Regions from separate parts of the Homo sapiens genome. Here region 1 is linked to region 2. The links are contacts of gene promoters, found by promoter capture Hi-C in blood cells and fetal thymus (Javierre and others, 2016). All regions are on one chromosome and are shown on one strand. Each heading gives the region's core, a stretch centred on a gene start or on the middle of the fragment in contact. The rest is flanking DNA. Distances are from core to core; before and after follow the strand shown.

What was found. Contacts are between HindIII fragments. The CHiCAGO score rates a contact against its expected background, and 5 or more counts as called.
Region 1: a contact is called between a fragment that was not itself captured here and the fragment with the promoter of PID1 in region 2, in 1 of 17 cell types (endothelial precursors). The highest score is 8.9, in endothelial precursors.

The regions. Positions count from the first base shown.
Region 1 is chr2:227,939,906-227,945,222 of GRCh38, reverse strand. No RefSeq gene overlaps it. Among named protein-coding and RNA genes, the nearest start is that of DAW1, 71 kb to the right of the region's middle. The HindIII fragment of the contact is 5,260 bases long and covers 1,170-5,317 here.
Region 2 is chr2:229,267,998-229,272,928 of GRCh38, reverse strand. It overlaps PID1 (phosphotyrosine interaction domain containing 1), which reads left to right and starts at 1,642. Exons shown (of 3, transcript NM_001100818.2): 1 at 1,642-1,915. The coding sequence starts at 1,886. The HindIII fragment of the contact is 3,085 bases long and covers 1-2,360 here.

The DNA.
Region 1 (5,317 bases), core at 2,550-5,049, 1.3 Mb after region 2:
GTGCTGGGATTACAGGCATGAGCCACAGCACTTGGCCTAAACTCTTTCTTTACTGCGATCACACTGTCTCAGTGAATTGGGCTTATCTGTGCAGCAGGCAAGAACACATCAGGTGATTACAAATATGCCCATAAAGTATAAGACTTACAAGCTAGGTAGAGGAAAAGCAAATGCTGTTCACTGCCCTGACCTTGGCCATTGCCTTGATGTGGCTAGAGTTACAGCTATAAATATATCTGACTGCATTATGCAGAAGTGGTATTATATCTTCTATATCCATGCTGTCCAAAATGGTGGCCACTGGTGACATATGGTTATTGAGTACTCAAAATGTGGCTGGTGTGACTAAAGAACTAACATTTTCACTTTATTAATTTGATGTTAATCATATTGAGTTGACATAAGAATTACTGAATTTATTTAACTCGAATAAATGTAGTTTTGAAACAGATACTTTTGCTTTAAGTTCAAATCAATTCTGGCTGGGCGCAGTGGCTCACGCCTGTAATCCCAGCACTTTGGGAGGCCAAGGTGGGCAAATCACTTGAGGTCAGGAGTTCAAGATCAGCCTGGCCAACATGGAGAAACCCCATCTCTACTAAAAATATGAAAATTAGCTGAGCATGGTGGTGGGTGCCTGTAATCGCAGCTACTTAGAGGTTGAGGCAGGAGATTAGCTTGAACCTGGGAGGCAGAGATTGCAGTGAGCCAAGATCGCACCACTGTACTCCAACCTGGGTGACAGAGCAAGACTCTGTCTCAAAAAAACAAAAAGAAAAACAAAACAAAAAAAAAACAATTCTTCTAAAAAAGATATACCAGGCCTGTCAATGTAGGTGTGACTATTAAAGAAAAATGATTATTTGCTACTCAGTTTAGTTATTGGACAATTTTTACAACATGGTTGGAACAACTTGGATCACAATCTAGTTTTTCAACTGGGAATTTTATAAAACCTAAATACAAACAGGGTATTTCCAATGAAAATTTAGTGTCTGAATAAATATGAGTCTGTCTTCATTTTCTCTCTACTATGAAAATGCTCTCACTCTACTTGGTCTCAGGAAAGAGGGTTTCTGGTGAGTTTGTCCTGTGGAAGTCTCTGTCAAGTGAACCTTCCTTTTGAGGTGGTGATACCTGAACAGCTGGGGTTGGAAAGTGCAGAAGCTTGGCAGGTCACTGGTAAGGTTCTTGAAAAGCCTTGACCTCAGGACAGCCTGTCTTTCCCTTTCTAGTCAAGTCCCCATTCTCCAGAGCTATGCCGATCTGGGGATGCAGGGACAGCACTAGCCAGTGGTATGTATCTGACCAGGGGAGCAATCCAGGAACTACGTTACTGACTCACAACAGAACTTATCTGGGTTTGTTGCAAAATGATTTTTTTTTTGTCTATAGAAAATAGAGTTATTTGTCTCCTCCCTGAAACTTATTGTGATATTTTTGAATAATGTGTTCACTGTTCTTCCCAAGGTGGGTCAGTTTTATGTGTCTACTTGGCAAGGCTATTGTCCCCAGTCATTTAAACACTCTGGAAGTTCTATTTGCTTTTTTATTGAGTATAAATGAGAAAAATCTGAAAACGTGAGTGAGGATCAATGAGTAGTTGGAGTGTCTGTGGTGGCACTATCATTGTGGTTGAGGTCACCTTGGATCTCACAGCTATAGGTATGGGAATCCCAGCTCTGCTCTTCCACTCCCAGAGATAGCAAATCTGCAGAGCTATAGACTCGCAGAGCCAATATGCCGAGATGCACCTGCCTGGAGAGAAAAATACACATGCACACACATGCATGAACACCCACAATGATGCATAATCTCTAACAGTGAAGAAAATGTGGCACAGTAGTTTCCCCTTATCCACAATTTCACTTTCTGTAGTTTTGTTACTCAAGGTCAACTGTGGTCCTTGAGTAACCAAGGACCCAAAAATAATCAGTAAAAAGTTCCAGAAATAAACAATTTATATATTTTTAATTGCTTTCCATTCTGAGTAGCATGATGAAATCTTATGCCATCCCACTCTGTCCCATTTGGGAAGCGAATCATCCCTTTGACCAGCATGTGACTGTAGACACTACCTGCCCTCCGTCACTTAGTAGCTGAGGGAAAAGACAGATCACATTCACATAATTTTTATTACAGTATATTGTGATAGCTTTTCTAACTGTTCTATTTTATTATTAATTATCATTGTTAGTCTCTTACTGTGCCTAATTTATAAATTAAACTTCATCATAGTATGCATGTACAGGAAAAACATAGTATATACAGGGCTCAATATTATATATATAGGTTTCAGGCATCCACTGGCGACTGGAACATATCCTGTAAGGATAAGAGAGGGTAACTTAATGTGGATTCCTGAATATCTAGTAAGCTCTCACACTATGAGAGTTATTAGGTTAAGTGCAGAAATATAAAACCAAACAGGCTAGATATTACTAATGTTAATCAGTATCTATTTTTCTTCAACTTCCATGTACTCAAAGGATTACATTCCTCCCCACCTTTTTTATAGAGACAAGGTCTCACTCTGTTGCCCAGATTGAAGTGCAGTGGCACAATCATAGCTCACTGCAGGCTCAAACTCCTGGGCCCATGTAATCCTCACCTCTCAGTCTCCTGAATAGCTGAGACTACAGGCACATGCCACCTGCCTCGCTAATTTTTTTTCTTTTTTTTCTTTCTTTCTTTCTTTTTTTTTTTTTTTTTTTTTTTGTAGAGACAAGGTCTCACTATGTTGCCCAGACTGGTCTTGAACTCCTGGACTCAAGTGATCCTCCCACCTTGATATCCCAAAGTTTTGGGATTACAGGCTTGAGCCACTGTGCACAGCCCTTTCCCCCTTTTTTTGAAGTTATGTATGGCTAGGTGACCAAAAAAACTGAACAGAAGTGTCATGTGTCAGTTGTCAGTTCTGAACTCTACAACCTCTCTGCCCTTGTCTCAGTGATCCTGAGACCATGTGTTGATGTGGAGCAGCACATGAGTCATCCACAGAGAACTGGTGGCCTGAAGAGTCACCTAGAGCACAGCAGGCTTACTTTACAGAAGTGAGAAATAAACTTCTGTTTTGTGAATCATCTAAGAATTGAGAGGGGAGCAATTTGTGTATTTCGTGTTTGTTTGTTTCTATAGCACAACCTTGCCTATCCTAATGAATGTCTAAGTAACACGTGGTACCTGCCCTCCATGTGCTTACAGTCTAGGAAGGTGATTTCAAGTGTCTCAGTGGCTTTAATAACATGTATTTATTTTTACCGAAATAATTAGTTATTTCCAATTTATGAAGGCATTTATTTCCAAAGATGATAGAATGATCATTTCAATATCAAAACATGTATAAAACAGGAAAACCAAAAAATTCAAATATATTTAGAGCATTTATTCTCAACCTTGGCTATATCAGAATCACCTGGGAACATTTTCAAACTACCAAGGTCAGGGCCCTAACTGTCAGAGATTCTGATTTAATTGGTCCACAGTGGAGCCCAGGCACTGGTATTTTTAAAGTTCCCTAGTTTCAGATTCAATGACTTTAATAATTGCATTAAGCTCCTGGGATAAGTCTTTTAAGTAGTCTTAATATTAAACATTAAATTAAAAATTAAACTTAACATTAGTTAGCTTCCAGTTATCCAAAGGAAAATAGAAACACATTTCTCAACTGACAGGTGACTGAAAAAAAAATGGCAGATAGGAGGCAGTACTAAAGTGCAGCTCCCACTCTGGATAGACAGAGCAGAATGTGGAGACTAGCATTGTGGACTATTGCTCCAAAAACTACTGCAGGAGTATACCAGAAAAGCCAAGAGAATCCACAGACCCTTTGAAGGAAGTGGATTCCTCCTGCAGGATCCAGGAGACATCTCAAATACCGTGCTGGTATCCACAGCTGAGAGAACTGAACACAGTTCACCTCACAGGACTCTGTGCAGACACCCCCAGTACCAGCCCAGAGCCTGGCAGCCCTGCTTGCTGGCTAGATTCAGAAGAGAAATAACAATCACTACAGTTTGGCTCTCAGAAAGCCACATCCCTAGGGAAAGAGGGGGAATATTACATCAAGGGAGTACCCCGTGGCACAAGAGTCTGAACAGCAGCCTTGAGCTCCAGATCTCCCCTCTGACATAGCCTACCCGCATGAGAAGGAACCAGGAAAACAATTCTGGTAATATGACAAGAGAAGGTTCTTTAACACCCCAAAAAGTCGCATTAGCTCACCAGCAATGGATCCAAACCAAGAAGAAAAATCTGAATTGCCAGAAAAAGAATTCAGAAGGTCAATTATTAAGCTATTCAAGCAGGCACCAGAGAAAGGTGAAGTCCAACTTAAGGAAATCAAATAAATGATACAAGATATGAGGGGAGAAATCTTCAGTGAAACAGGTAGCATAAATAACAATCACAACTTCAGGAAATAAAGGACACACTTAGAGAAATGCAAAACATACTTGAGAGTCTCAGGAATAGAATTGAACAAGCAGAAGAAAGAACTTCAGAGCTCAAAGACAAGGTTTTTGGAATAACCCAATCCAACAAAGACAAGAAAAAAGAATTTTGAAAATGAGCAAACCCCCAAGAAGTTTGGGATTATGTTAAATGACCAAATATGAGAATAATTGGCATTCCTGAGAAAGATCAGCATTCCTGAGGAAATTTAAAAGTTTGGAAAACATATTTGGGGGAATAATCGAAAAAACTTTCCCCGGCCTTGCTCAAAGAACACCTGGGAAATTCATCACAAAAAGATCATCGCCTAGGCACATTGTCATCAGGTTATCTAAAGTCAAGACAAAGGAAAGAATCTTAAGAGCTACGAGGCAAAGCATCAAGTAACCTATAAAGGAAAACCTATCTGATTAACAGCAGATTTCTCCCACCTTGGCCTCCCAAAATGTTGTGATTATAGGCATGAGCCACTGTACTGGGTCTTATGAAGGTATTTTGTAGAGGTGATTAAAATCCATAATCAGCTGACTTTAGGTAAGGGCAATTATCGTACACAGTCTGAATGGCCCTGATTCACTCAGCTGAAAGATCTAAAGAGAAGAATAAAAGCCTCTCAGGAGAATGAGATATTCTGCCTGTGGCAAAAGTTTCAGCTGACACTTATCCTGATGGCCTTCCCTAAGAATTTCAGACTTGCCTAGTCAGCCTCAGAATCCTGGAAGACAATTCCTTACAGTAAATGTCTTTATGTTTTCTACTTACTCCGTTCATTGTTTGAACCTCGATTGATATACTCCCCAACCCTCACTAAATTGTAAACCGTGAGGGAGAGATGTCTGTCTTCCCTTTTATGAATCCCAGTACC
Region 2 (4,931 bases), core at 393-2,892:
ATCCTGGATCTGAATCGCCATTGTAACTCCCCACAGTGTGACTCTGTGAACCCTGTGCTCCCCAAGCCTTGGGAGATAGGGGCTTCTGTCCCACGGAGAGTTGCTGCGAGGGTCCGATGAGCTGAGGGTTAGATTCTGGAGTGGTTCCATATCTGGAAATCATTGTAGTCATGCAGAACAAGGAAAATGGACAGATCCTCCTTCCAGACATGGAGTGTGGATTTTGACATTGCATGAGTAGCTCACGGCCCAAGCTGTGCAGCTGTCTCAGTATGAAATGCCTCTCTTTCACACCCCTCTGCTCTCAGGACCCTGCCTTGTAGGAGCCTAGGGCTCCCCACAAACATTGTGTTCTCTCTGCTCCTCTCTTTGGTCATTCTATGTCCTGAGTTCTTCCCACCATGTTCTCCTCTCCCACTCTTCATCAGCTCGAGAATCAGCTTAGTATCCCTGACTTGCCAAGTGCCTTTAACCCCCAGCCCTAGACGGATGCTCTTTCCACTGGGTTTCCATGGTCAGTTAGAGGCGCAGGGCCACATCTCCTGCCCTGAAGTCATCTGACTGTGCACTCTCTAAGCCACTCACTGGCTGTGTGACCTGGACAAGTGACCTAAACCTTATAAGCCTCATTTGTTTGATCCACATGGTGAAAATATTAATAGTTATTTTGCCGAGTTGTCAAGAGAATGGGAAGGGCTGGCCTGTTTAGGACAGGAAGTCATCTCATGGTGGCCGGCACTAGCCGGGGAGCCTCCAGGCCTGCGAGCCCAGAGCGGCTTTCCCTTGGGTTCTGAGAGCCTCCTGCTGCACCTGGCAGATCTCAGGATGAGTTAGTGATTCGGGAGTCTGCATGGCCCTCCTCACCCCTGTATAGGTTAGGAGTCGAGTCCTCTCCCCATCATGAAGCATGGCCTCTTCGTGGCCAATCCCTCTCATCTCTCAGGTCTTACTCCAGGCATTCCCCAGGGCCCTTGTCTAAGAAGCTCTCCTCTCCCCTTCTTCCCACATCTGCCCTGTTTTATCACCACCCGATATAGCACCGGCTTGTTGATGTGTTTGCTCAGTCACGACTCTCTCTCCAAAGCAGAAGGTAAGCTCCAGAGAGAAGGAACATTCTCTTGTCTTCTATTCTGCGTCGCTGCATCCTCAGAACCCAGCATAGGGGCTGGAGCCTAATAGATGCTCAGTTAACTGGAGTGGGAAGAATGAATGGAAGTGTCTCCCTAGCACAGCGCCAGGCACAGCACAGGCACTTCAGAGATGCCTGTTATATGGAAACCCGGGACCCCCGGGGCTACGGTTTCCTTATTTTAGGAATTTCCCCCACCCCCGCCACCCCCGACATCCCCGCTGCCCCCACCACCCCCGGCTCCAGGCCCTTCCCCCCTCAGCCAGTCTGTCCCTTTTCCCAGACCCCAACCCAATGGGGGCTTCCTGCAGGGAAGGGCCGGCTGTTCTAGCCTCCCCATTCACCCCTCACTAGGATTTAGAGTCGGCCGCGCTGCACTCCCGCCCCGCGCGGCCCCTGGGCGCCCGCCCCGGGCATGCTCAGAGCGCGCAGGTCCGGGCGGCGGCGGCGGGGGAGGAGGGAGCGGCCGCCCCCGCCGCCGCCGCGCGCTCGCCGGGCCCGGGCGGAGCTGCGCAGTCCTCTCGCAGCTGCGCCAGGACAGCCGGCGCGCGGCCGTGCCCACAAGTTGCCGGCAGCTGAGCGCCGCGCCTCCTCCTGCTCGCAGCCCCCTACGCCCACCCGGCGGCGGTGGCCAGCGCCAGGACGCACATCCCGCGGACACCGACCCCAGATGTAAAGCGGGACCCCAGCCCCTCGCCCCCCGGCGCGATCGACAGTCTCGCCAGCGTCTCCTCTGCCAAAACCCAGGGCTGGAAGATGTGGCAGCCGGCCACGGAGCGCCTGCAGGTAAGGGGCACCCGGGAGCCGGGGGCCAGCCTGGAGGAGGAGGTGCCCGGGCAGAGGAACCTAGTTTTTGCTTCTGCCTACTTTAGGGGATTTGCCCAAAACCATCTTGTAAGACGCATCGATGGCAACATGATGCTGTCGGTTTACCCAGCGCCAGGAACCCGGCAGGGGTATGGGGATGATGAAATTGATAAACGCACGGGTTCAGGCGTTACAACTTTTGGCTTGGAGGTGCTTGTGTGCGTGTTGGTTGGTACATATAAGGTTGGACTTTCTGACTGGCAATTTAGATTGCATTCCACTGACACAATGCAGTGGTCTGGGGTTAGGATTTTTGAAGCCAGATTTTTTTTTTTTTTTTTTTTTTTTTGTGGTCACCAGGAAAGACAGAACAAGTGATATGTGAAAGCATCCATTTGCCAATATAATGTGGAAATATCAAGCTTGGTTTGGCTTGGTCATGGTATGCTACTTATTTTATTTTTCCCTATTCATTGGTTCTCTCCCTTTATCTTCCTTAAACCCAAGCTCCTTCAGATATTTAAGAATCAAAAGTAGGTTCAGCCAGGAATATTTATGTCCTGGGTTATCCCATCAAAAGTTTTTTACTGCTGTCTCCTGAAATGCCAGACTGCCTTGAATTGGATTCTGGAAGCTGGGGATTTGCGGGAGGCGATTGAAGAGAAAGAGGGACCTTTCCCAGAAGAACTCCTTCAGTGACACGTTGGGCCTTGGGATTGCCCTGGTTGCAAGGTTTGAGGACTGCCTTTTGCTGGCAAATATTGTCAAGAGTCACGGCAGCTACTCTGCCAGATAAAATCCACTGAATCCTGCAGTTAAACTTTTGGCAAGCTAGGAGCCACATTGTTTCGTAGTAAACTTTGAAGACGTGTTTAACTGGTAAAATACAGCACCATTGGAGGCTGAGTGCATCTGAAGACTTAGGACAATGAGGCCAGGCCCTGGCTAGGTTGGAGGCTTCTCAATGAACATTTACAGCCCCAAGCACAGTTTCTCAGATGCAGGGAGAGGCTAACCTTTGTCTAGGAGTCCTCATACAGAGGAACAACCCGCAGAGGGCATTGCATTTAGCAGAAACAGATGCCCCACAGCTCCTTTCCAAAGCTCCCTGGGCCATGATTTGCGGGGAGTGTGTTCAATTTATCAGAGCCTGAGACACCAGACCAGTTCCCCAGGGTCTCAAGTAGAATAAACAAGAAAACCTGCATTTAGCCTTGCAGATGAGGAGGTGGATGACCAACCTCCTAACCCCCTCCTTGTCTTACTAAGAGAATATCAGCACTGGGCTCTGAATGACTGATAGAAGGTGATGTAAATATATTTTGGCAGTGGCACCAGATACCAGTGGCGCATTTGAAGTTCTCCTTCGGTTAAAGGCGTAACTTCTATTCCAAAGGAGCAGAATGATTGAGGGGAGCTGGCAGGTTTCCTGTTCAAGTGCAGAGGGTAGCTTTTGGAAGTCCTTAGAGAGATGTGACCAAAATTCCTTGAGGTGGCTTTTATGGCCTGATGATCTGTACCTCTGAAGAGTTTGTAGATTTTTGACTATTCAAGTTCTTCCTACCGGCCTGTTTCACTTAGGGAATCCTGTGCGCTCTGGAGCATGTGACCCTTGGCAGGTGGGCGCTCTCGCTTGCCTTCCCATAGAGATTGCTCCTCACTAGAAATGTCTCCCCCTTATTTTGTGAAATGTGCACGTGTGCATTTTGGCGTGAGCCTGGTTTATTGCAGTTGGTGTTTGCAATGCGTTTATTTTATTTCAAGGTGTCATGTTGAAAGAACCTGTTTTTAGGCTTTTGAAAGCTCATATAAACAGGGCTTATCACCAATAAGACCGAGTCACTGTTGGAAGGTCCTTACCAACAGGGGGCTCAACTTCATGCTGCCCAAATTTCGATGAGTCTCTTTTGAAAGTACATACATCTCAAGCCTTGAGATTAGAGAAGTGAGACAAATGCGGAAAAATTTTTTTATATCCGTGGCTTCTTCCCAAAGAGTATTGCTTGACTCTCCTTGAAAACACATAATTTATATGTTTTTACTTTTGCCTCTGAGAGAGCTGTTGAGGATGAGATGGTGAGTGAGCTGCTTATCATATTTTATTTACATTCCTTGTGGTTATCTTTGTCACAATCTCTGTTTGCTGTCTGGGGTTTTTTCCTTTTCTTTTCCTTTCACCGTGATATAGAAACATGCCTGTCCGATTCCTCAGTGAGAAGCCACTTTGCCACTCCCAGGCTCTGTGGCCACAGAGATAGCAGTGGATATCATGCTGGATAGGAAACTTGAGAATGAGTTCTGCTCTTTAATGATGTCTGAGCTCCATGTGCCTTTCACAAATCTTTATAAACCTTCTCATTCGACCTCATTAATTTTTTTCTCATTTATCTTTAATACAAACATTCTAATTTAGATGAGCCAGAGTGAAGAAAATTCGTCAAGGAAACATTCCCAGAACTTCCTAATAGGACTAAGGAGTCAATTTATTTTATCAATACCTAGAATCAAAAGAGGGGATGGAAGAAAATAACCAGACCCTTTCTTGATGATATAGTTCATATTCGATGAAGCTGGTTTGAGAAGTCTGTGTCCCAGGGGAGTGTGATAGATCTTTGCGTAGAACAGTCACCCTCTAAATAATGGACTTTTGAGTGTAGCAACTGGCTCCGTTGCTCAGGAAATGGCATCTTTGATCAGGTTTGATTATCATTATTGTTACCCACACTTCTGTGTCCCCACAAAATGATGCTGATATTTTCTGATTTGAGGTTTAGCTGTTTGACCCAAATCCAGCACAGGCAAAGGGACCTATTGCCCTGAGCAGAGCTGCGCTGGGTAATTTCTCATTCAGTCACACAAACCGAGGCAAGTTCATCTGCTCCCTTGAATGTTAAAACTTCTATTGCATCCCACTCGAGCCCTCGCTGGGAGCTTCTGCCATTAAAAATATAATAGGATCAAAAGGGATGTGAAGATTTAATTTACCACCCCAACT